Regions from separate parts of the Homo sapiens genome. Here region 1 is linked to region 2. Evidence: promoter capture Hi-C in human tissues and cell types (Jung and others, 2019). All regions are on one chromosome and are shown on one strand. Each heading gives the region's core, a stretch centred on a gene start or on the middle of the fragment in contact. The rest is flanking DNA. Distances are from core to core; before and after follow the strand shown. Region 1 overlaps FBXW5 (F-box and WD repeat domain containing 5). Region 2 holds the start of DNLZ (DNL-type zinc finger).

What was found. Contacts are between HindIII fragments. The study calls those that stand out against the background at their distance.
Region 1: a fragment that was not itself captured here is called in contact with the fragment with the promoter of DNLZ in region 2 in 1 of the 25 tissues and cell types used here (spleen).

Annotation. Positions count from the first base shown.
Region 1 is chr9:136,939,477-136,943,912 of GRCh38, reverse strand. FBXW5 (F-box and WD repeat domain containing 5) reads left to right here. Exons shown (of 9, transcript NM_018998.4): 2 at 1-22; 3 at 407-564; 4 at 970-1,144; 5 at 1,218-1,366; 6 at 1,447-1,867; 7 at 2,229-2,376; 8 at 2,450-2,662; 9 at 2,742-3,478. The coding sequence ends at 2,985. Among named protein-coding and RNA genes, the nearest start is that of FBXW5, 3.0 kb to the left of the region's middle. RefSeq lists a silencer at 92-161 and an enhancer at 1-762. The HindIII fragment of the contact is 5,626 bases long and covers 299-4,436 here.
Region 2 is chr9:136,361,707-136,366,112 of GRCh38, reverse strand. It overlaps DNLZ (DNL-type zinc finger), which reads left to right and starts at 2,369. Exons shown (of 3, transcript NM_001080849.3): 1 at 2,369-2,626; 2 at 2,985-3,124; 3 at 3,933-4,406. The coding sequence starts at 2,399. The coding sequence ends at 4,101. It overlaps CARD9 (caspase recruitment domain family member 9), which reads left to right. Exons shown (of 13, transcript NM_052813.5): 11 at 896-972; 12 at 1,554-1,630; 13 at 1,712-2,157. The coding sequence ends at 1,811. LOC124902309 (a long non-coding RNA gene) reads right to left here and starts at 2,744. Exons shown (of 2, transcript XR_007061863.1): 1 at 2,661-2,744. RefSeq lists enhancers at 12-901, 902-1,792 and silencers at 2,004-2,103, 2,134-2,633, 2,734-3,013. The HindIII fragment of the contact is 10,875 bases long and covers 1-4,406 here.

The sequences.
Region 1 (4,436 bases), core at 1,862-4,361, 580 kb before region 2:
CGCGACGTGCCCCGACACCCAGGTCAGTGGCGTGTGGGGCCCCTACCCACGTTCTGCAGCCAGGGCCCCGGGCCCCTGCGCTTGGGGGTCAGCCTGGCTGGGGGCCCGCCCCGCGGCCCCGCGTGTCCATGCTCACCCCCCCACACCCTGATAGAGGCCTGTCAGGACACAGCGCAGGCGCCCCTCAGAGCTTGGAGGCCAGAGGGTTCATTGGGTCACTTGGGGGGTGGGGGGTACAGGGGTCTCTGTGAGCTACAGGGTTGAATCCCCCAGCCGAGGCCTATGCCATGACTAGTGGGTTCCAGGGGCACCACGGGGCCTGCCAGGACTGCTGGGGCCACACTCGGCTCATGGCCGTGACTGCGAGGAAGGCCCGGGCCCAGGACTGACAACTGCCCACCCGCAGCGGCCATGTCCTGGTACGAGGAGTTCCAGCGGCTGTATGACACGGTGCCCTGCGTGGAGGTGCAGACGCTGCGGGAACACACAGACCAGGTCCTGCACCTCAGCTTCTCCCATTCCGGGTACCAGTTCGCGTCCTGCTCCAAGGACTGCACTGTGAAGGTGAGGACGGCCAGGTGTCCTGCACACCCCACCCAGCTCTGCCGCAGCACGGAGGTCCCAGGACCCAGGCGTTCCAACCAGGTGGTGGTGGGGGGGGGGGTGGGTCAGGCCAGAGGTGACAGCAGCCTCCCTGCATCCAGCGGAGGGACCACAGAGGATCAGGAGCGGTGCAGGGTGGCCCTGAGTGCTGAGGAGAGGGTCCCACACACAGCCGCCTGCTTCAGGGGCAGGCTCCTCCGCTCTATACCAATGCCCCCCGAGTGGATGACAGTGGCTGGAAGGGGTCCCTGCTCCCTGGTGGCCTCTGAGTAGGGCTGGCAGAGCTGGGGCCTCATGGCTGTGTAGTAGCAGGCCCCCGCCCCGCGACCTGGCCAGGCGATCACTACAGCCGCCCCTGCCGAACAGATCTGGAGCAACGACCTGACCATCTCGCTGCTGCACAGCGCGGACATGCGGCCCTACAACTGGAGCTACACCCAGTTCTCCCAGTTCAACAAGGACGACTCGCTACTGCTGGCCTCGGGGGTGTTCCTGGGGCCGCACAACTCCTCATCCGGCGAGATTGCTGTCATCAGCCTAGGTGAGCACGGGCGGCGGGTTGACCCTGCCCCCGCCCCACGCCGACAGCCTGTCCAGCCCCGGCCTCCCCACAGACTCCTTCGCGCTGCTGTCCCGCGTGCGGAACAAGCCCTATGACGTGTTTGGCTGTTGGCTCACCGAGACCAGCCTCATCTCGGGGAACCTGCACCGCATCGGAGATATCACCTCCTGCTCGGTGCTGTGGCTCAACAATGCCTTCCAGGTGCGTGCGGGGCTAGGGGCGGGGCTGCCCTCCTGGGGCCTGGCGCCCGGCGCCCACCTGGCACGTGCCCCCGCCCCCAGGATGTGGAGTCAGAGAACGTCAACGTGGTGAAGCGGCTGTTCAAGATCCAGAACCTCAATGCCAGCACCGTCCGCACGGTGATGGTGGCCGACTGCAGCCGCTTCGACAGCCCTGACCTGCTGCTGGAAGCCGGTGACCCGGCCACGTCCCCCTGCCGCATCTTTGACCTGGGCAGCGACAACGAGGAGGTGGTGGCTGGCCCGGCCCCCGCCCACGCCAAGGAGGGCTTGCGGCACTTTCTGGACCGCGTGCTGGAGGGGCGGGCGCAGCCACAGCTGTCGGAGCGCATGCTAGAGACCAAGGTGGCCGAGCTGCTGGCCCAGGGCCACACCAAGCCACCCGAGCGCAGTGCCACAGGCGCCAAGAGCAAGTACCTCATCTTCACCACTGGCTGCCTCACCTACTCCCCACACCAGATCGGTACACCCCTGCCGCCATGCTGCCCGCCTCGGTCCTAGGAGCTTGGGGGAGGCCGGGCAGGGGTCCTGAGGGGCAGACAGCAAGCAAGTCCACAGGCAAAGCTGGGATCGTTCACTCGCCCCTGGGGTCACAAGCCCAGACCTGGGGCCTGTGGGATGAGCAGTGAAAACAAACGCAGGCAGGGCCGCTGGCCAGCAAGCAACCGACGGGCCTGATTCAGGTCTGGGGCCCCCGGAGCAGGCAGTGCCCACGGACCTCTGTGGTGCTCACAGCCCCAGAGACACCACTGAGGTAGGAAGCTGCCCTGGAGTGATGTCCTTGGGGCATTGGACAGGGACCCTCACCGTAGCCCTCCCTGCAGGCATCAAGCAGATCCTGCCACACCAGATGACCACGGCAGGGCCCGTGCTGGGTGAGGGCCGGGGCTCCGATGCCTTCTTCGACGCGCTGGACCACGTCATAGACATACACGGACACATCATCGGCATGGGCCTGTCGCCCGACAACAGGTGGGCCTCTTGCCAGTGTCCCAGGCGGGGTGCCCGCAGGCGGCCCACACCTAGCACAGTGCCCCTCGCCCAGGTACCTGTACGTGAACAGCCGCGCCTGGCCCAACGGTGCGGTGGTGGCCGACCCCATGCAGCCGCCACCAATCGCGGAGGAGATTGACCTGCTGGTGTTCGACCTCAAGACCATGCGGGAGGTGAGGCGGGCTCTGCGTGCGCACCGCGCCTACACGCCCAACGACGAGTGCTTCTTCATCTTCCTGGACGTCAGCAGGGACTTCGTGGCCAGGTGCAGGGCGCGGCGTGGTGCAGGGCGGGTGTGGGCAGCAGCGGGCGGGCGGCCGGCTCACCCAGGCGCTGTTCTGCAGCGGGGCGGAGGACCGGCACGGCTACATCTGGGACCGCCACTACAACATCTGTCTGGCCAGGCTGCGGCACGAGGATGTGGTCAACTCAGTGGTCTTCAGTCCCCAGGAGCAGGAGCTGCTGCTCACGGCCAGCGACGACGCCACCATCAAAGCCTGGCGCTCCCCACGCACCATGCGCGTCCTCCAGGCACCTCGCCCACGGCCTCGCACCTTCTTCTCCTGGCTTGCCAGCCAGAGGCGCTGAGGTGTGCTGGGTGCACTGGAGCCACCGGGACCCCTTGAGGACATCGCCAGGCTCTGTGGCTTTTTCCCGAGCGGGAGAGGTGGAGATGCTTATAGCAGTTACGCCTTAGGAAGGGGACAACCAGGCCCCGCCACACGCTCACACACAAACCTGCTCACGCAGCTGTGATGCTTGGCACGGGGTGGCCAGTGCAGATGGAGCCCAAGGCCCCCTCGGCCTCCTGGGCAACTTGGGGTACACAGGATACTGGGGGTGCCGCTCCTCACTCAACCCCAGGCTAGGGGTACACCTGACCCAGCTGGCCTCGGCCCGGGGCACCTTCGGCTGGTCCTGTGGGGCCCTGGACGGTGGCCCAGTGGTGGCAGGGGCTGCTCCTGGCTGTGGTTGTGCGCCCGGGGCTTGGGAGCGGCCGGTCACGCTGCTGTGGGCCCGAGTGTGTTGCATGTCCACGCACCACCCGTTCAGGGCCCTGAATAAACAGTTGGCAACAGCACATTGTTGTCCAGTCTCTGTCTGCAGGGAGGGAGACTGTGGGCACTGCTGGCACAGTGGAGTGGACCTCATGGTCACTGCTGACGGGTGACGCTGTTATTGCTGGCACAGTGGTCCTACTGGAGTGAATGTTGCAGTCACTGCTGACAGGTGACATGTGCGTCTGAGGTCATGTGCTGGTGCCAGACTTTGTCACACTGCCCTGTCCTCCATGACCTCCAGGGAGATGCCTGGCACATGTGCCGGGGCTGGCAGCATGCAGGGCCTGCCGTCTGGGTCCAGGGTCAGTAGGCCACGTCACTCCCAGTGCCAGGGCAGCCCCCCCAGTCAGTCCCGTCCTTGAGGGAGTTCCTCAGCTGCTGGGTCCAGAGTCGGCAGGCTGCGTCGCTCCCAGTGCCAGGGCAGCCCCCACAGTCAGTCCCATCCTTAAGGGAGTTCCTCGGCTGCTGGGTCCAGAGTTGGCAGGCTGCGTCACTCCCAGTGCCAGGGCGGCCCCCCACAGTCCCGTCCTTGAGGGAGTCCCTCGGCTGCTGGGTCCAGAGTCGGCAGGCCGTGTCGCTCCCAGTGCCAGGGCGGTCTCCACAGTCAGTTCAGGCCGGCGAGGATGGGACCAGGGGCCCAGAAGTGGGAGCAGAGGTGGAGCTCCAGCTGGACCCCACAGGCTTTGTTGGAACTGCACCGGGAGCTCGGGGGCCCGGGGCGATGGTGGTGACAAGGAAGATGGCAGGAGTAGAGCCTGGCACTCGGGTCAGCTGCCCATTATAGGAAGCACACAGAGCTTGTGGCTCCAAACATGGCAGCAAGCAACCCCGTACAGAGAAAGGACGCAGAGGAGACGAGTGAGTGTCGAGGTGATGGTTCCCCTGAGCCACGTGGGCCGCAGGTAGAGACCCTGGGGCTGAGCTCGAGCACCGACGGGATCAGGGACAGCACCACCGAGAGAGGCTGCGCCACCCAGA
Region 2 (4,406 bases), core at 1,120-3,619:
GCAGAGGGGTCCTGGGAGGCTGCACCGGAGTTGGACAAGCTTCCTGAGTACCAGGCCGTGGCCTCCAAGCAGAGGCGGAAGGGGAAGGAGGAGCCGCAGACGGGGAAGTGAAGACCAGCGCCTTTGGCTGCAGCTCAGAACACTTGAACATGGGGATGCCAAGCCCCCATGTAGGCACAGAGGCGAGCAGGACCCAGGAGTCCGGCTCAGGCACTGCCCCCATCCCCCTGGGTGGCTGTGGCAGGAGCAGGGGCAGGTGTGAAGGTTGGAGGGTGAGCAGGGGAGGGGCTGGCTCTAAGGGGCTGCCAATGGCCAGGACAGCCCTGGCCTGGCCCTCACCGCAGTGGGGCTGAGACTGGACGTGCGTGGTTTCTGCCCAAGGGTCCTGATCCCTGGTCTGCCCAGGTCCTGGCGGTTTCTGAGGGGGTCCAGCCGCCTGAAGGTTCTCTCCCAATTGCTGCAGTACCCCTGCCCCCACTTCAGGAGGACCCAGACAGCCACTGTAGCTGTCCCCAACTCTCTCCCCAGGGCCGCCATGCCCACAGATGCTTTGGAGTGATGGGGGACGGTGCTGCTCAGGCCCAGGGTTTAAGTTCCCCCGAGGTCTGGGAGGCGTTCCTCCCTGGCAGGCAGCCAGCTCGGGGGAGGGATGGTCACTGGCGGGAGCGTTGGGCCTGGGCTGGCATCTGGCGGCCTCCTGGAGCAATGAACAGGCAAGCGAGGCCATAAGGCCTCAGTCTCATCTACAGAAAGCAGAGTCTACACTGGACCCATGTGGGGATCCCACCAGGCCTTGGAAGACAGCCCCACTGCAATGCCGGGGAGGGGTGGGGCAGCCGTGCTATACGTGGCCCAGCAGATGGGCAGGTCCCACAGGCACGACTCTCCTTTCCAGGCTGCCTTGCCGGCGGGGGGAGCCCGAAACAGCCCTTTGCAGCTCTGCACCAGGAGCAGGTTTTGCGGAACCCCCATGTAAGGCTTCCCCGGGGTGGGGTCCTCCCAGCCGTGGGCCTCAGGGTGACCGATCACAGGGAGAGTGGCTCCCTGCCCTGGGCACCCCCTGCGGTGGCCCCGACGACAGCTGAGGAGTGACCACAAGGTCTCTGCCCACAGTGCTCGGGGTGCGGTGTCTGGGCTGCGAAGTGGATCCCCCTTTCTTGGGCACTGCAGCAGCTTGGGGGGCTTTTTGGACGTGGATGTGCCTGGTCCTGGTTTTCCGAGGGCCTTTACAGTGGATGAGGAGGTGAACACAGGAGTCCTGAGAGCAAGCACCACCTCGGGCTTTGTTGTAGAAACAATGGCCCGGACCCCAGGCTGGAGCCGTGGCTTGGCCTCCTGGGTGTGTCTTGGCATCTGAAATGCAGGCTACCCACACCGGCTCACCTCCAGGGGTACAGGCAGGTCCCACAGGGAGAGCTTGGCGCTGAGCTGAGGCTGTCTGGGCTCCTCGCCTCCCAACCAGTCTGCAGTTACAGGGGCCAGTGGGGGGCGGGTGAGAAGGACGGGTTCCCTCAGGGGAGCCGGCCGGAGCCCGAGCCTTCCCCCTTCTCCAGGACGCAGGCCTGAGCAGCGGGGAGCCGCCCGAGAAGGAGCGGCGGCGCCTCAAAGAGAGTTTTGAGAACTACCGCAGGTAGGCGGGCGGCCCCCAGGCTTCTCCAAAACGGGCTGGGGAGCGGCAGCCGGGTCGCGCCTGAGACACCTGTCTTCACAGGAAGCGCGCCCTCAGGAAGATGCAGAAAGGATGGCGGCAGGGGGAGGAGGACCGGGAGAACACCACGGGCAGCGACAACACCGACACTGAGGGCTCCTAGCCGCAGCAGCGCAGGCCCCGACCAGGGCACACCCACCGGCCCGGCCTCCTGCCACCCGGGGGTGCCGACGCCCTGGGGCGCAGACTTCCCCGAGCCGTCGCTGACTTGGCCTGGAACGAGGAATCTGGTGCCCTGAAAGGCCCAGCCGGACTGCCGGGCATTGGGGCCGTTTGTTAAGCGGCACTCATTTTGCGGAGGCCATGCGGGTGCTCACCACCCCCATGCACACGCCATCTGTGTAACTTCAGGATCTGTTCTGTTTCACCATGTAACACACAATACATGCATGCATTGTATTAGTGTTAGAAAACACAGCTGCGTAAATAAACAGCACGGGTGACCCGCATTCCCGCTCGGACACTCGCGCGCAGCCCCGCGGCCGTCCCTCCTCGCTGCGGCCCGCGGTGTCCTCGGGGTGCGAGCTGCACGTGGACGCAGGGCCCCCTCAGGCCGCCAGGGGGCGGCATAGCGCAGCGCGCCCCCGACCCGGAAGACGGAAGCCCAAGAACGCCGCTTCCGCCCGGCGCCCACTTCCAAGATGGCGGCGGGGCGGGGCCGGGGCAGGGCGGACGGAGCCGGCGAGCGGGATGCTGCGGACTGCGCTGCGCGGCGCGCCGAGGTTGCTGAGTCGCGTGCAGCCCCGGGCGCCCTGCCTGAGGCGGCTGTGGGGCCGCGGGGCCCGTCCAGAGGTCGCGGGGAGGCGGCGGGCCTGGGCCTGGGGCTGGCGGCGCTCAAGCTCCGAGCAGGGGCCGGGGCCCGCGGCGGCTCTGGGGCGCGTGGAGGCGGCGCACTACCAGCTCGTCTACACCTGCAAGGTAGGCGCGCGGCGGGACGGAACCGGGGACAGACCCGTATCTGACGCTACACGGCCTGCGGGGAGAAGCGGCCCGCCGGGGATCCGGGAGGCGGCGTGGTCAAGTCACAGGAAGGAGTGGAGCCACCCCTTGGGGCTTCTGGGAGGGAGCGGAGGCGGACCATGAGGAGGGGTGGAGCCGTCCCTGGGGCGGGGCCTTCCCGGGAGAGGGCGAGGTTGGGGGTGGGTGGAGCTATCCCTCGGGGGCGGGGCCTTCTCTGGAGAGGGTGAGGTGGCTGGAGCTACCCCTAGAGGGGCGGGTCTTCCCGGGAGGGGCGTGGCGGCCCTCACAGCCTCACCAGCTACCCTGTCCCAGCCAGGTCTGCGGGACTAGGTCCTCCAAGCGCATCTCCAAGCTGGCCTATCACCAAGGCGTGGTCATTGTGACCTGCCCCGGCTGCCAGAACCACCATATCATCGCTGACAACCTGGGCTGGTTCTCGGACCTGAATGGGAAGAGGTGAGGCCTGTACCCCAGGGCTGGGCCAGAAGGCCACCCAGAAGTACCCTGGCCTCCCTGGGGGAACCTTGCCCTAGTGTTGAGGTTTATAGATCTCACCTGGGAAATCCAGCCACCTTATCAATACAAGACACACAGTTAAATGAGAATTTCCTATAAAGCCCAGATAGCTTTTGAGTTTAAGTATGCCCCAAGTAGGGGGTGCGTTTTTATTTGTTAAATTTTGCCAGCCCTGTGGCCCTGCCTCCCTGCCTCTGCCTGCCCTCTGCCATCACTGGCAGCCTTGTCCCTCTCTAGCGTGGAACTTTTTTGCCCTCTGCCATCTTGGGGTGGCTGGCCCACAGCAAGGCTTGGGGTGTGGACCAGGAGGTGTGGCCTGGGCCCTGGCTGCTGGGAGAGCAGTGGAGGTGGTGCCGGGAGCCTGGTCCGGGCCTTGCCTGGCCGGGAGGTCCTGGGCAGGACAGTAACAGCGACAGCAGGTCTGAGACCAGCATGCCAGGTGCTTGGTGGTACCTGGCCCTTGGAGCTGGGACTGTCCTCCCATCAGACCCGGGGCTGCAGATTCTTCCCTCTGGCACATAGGGGGCAGGAGCAGGAGACTGGGTTCCTGAGGCGGCGCATACCGGCAGAGACACAGGGCTGGTGAGGGCACACAGGCCAGCGTCTGAAGTGCCCGTGTGGCCTGATGCCACAGGAGTGCTGGGCCTGGTGCTTGCAGCTCTGGCCTGGCCATGGGGCGCCCTGAGGGGACTGAAGTGCAGGGCGGCTGGGGGGCCCTGAAGAGCCATGTTGCCTCCCTGCCCCCCAGAAATATCGAAGAGATCCTGACGGCCAGAGGCGAGCAGGTGCACCGTGTGGCGGGCGAGGGGGCCCTGGAACTGGTTCTGGAGGCTGCAGGGGCCCCCACATCCACTGCAGCTCCGGAAGCGGGTGAGGATGAGGGTCCCCCCAGCCCTGGCAAGACGGAGCCGAGCTGACTCCTGCGCTCCCCGGCACTGTGGGACTTCGGCCTTCCAGAAGGAGGTTTTGGCCCTGGGCCTCTCTGGACGTGGCCTGTTTTCTATCAATAAACAGACATTACTTCCAGATGCTGGGGCCTGTGGCCCTCGTGGCCTTTCTTTTTCTGGAGTTAGAACGATTGCTCTGAATCCCTGGTGCTGCTGGGTGGGACATAGGAGCCGCAGGACCTCTCGCCTCACCACAGTTCCTTCTACACAGAGTCACCCAGCTCTTGCCCACAGAGGCCACAGTCGCGTGGAAAGGGGGCTGGATGTGGCGTCAG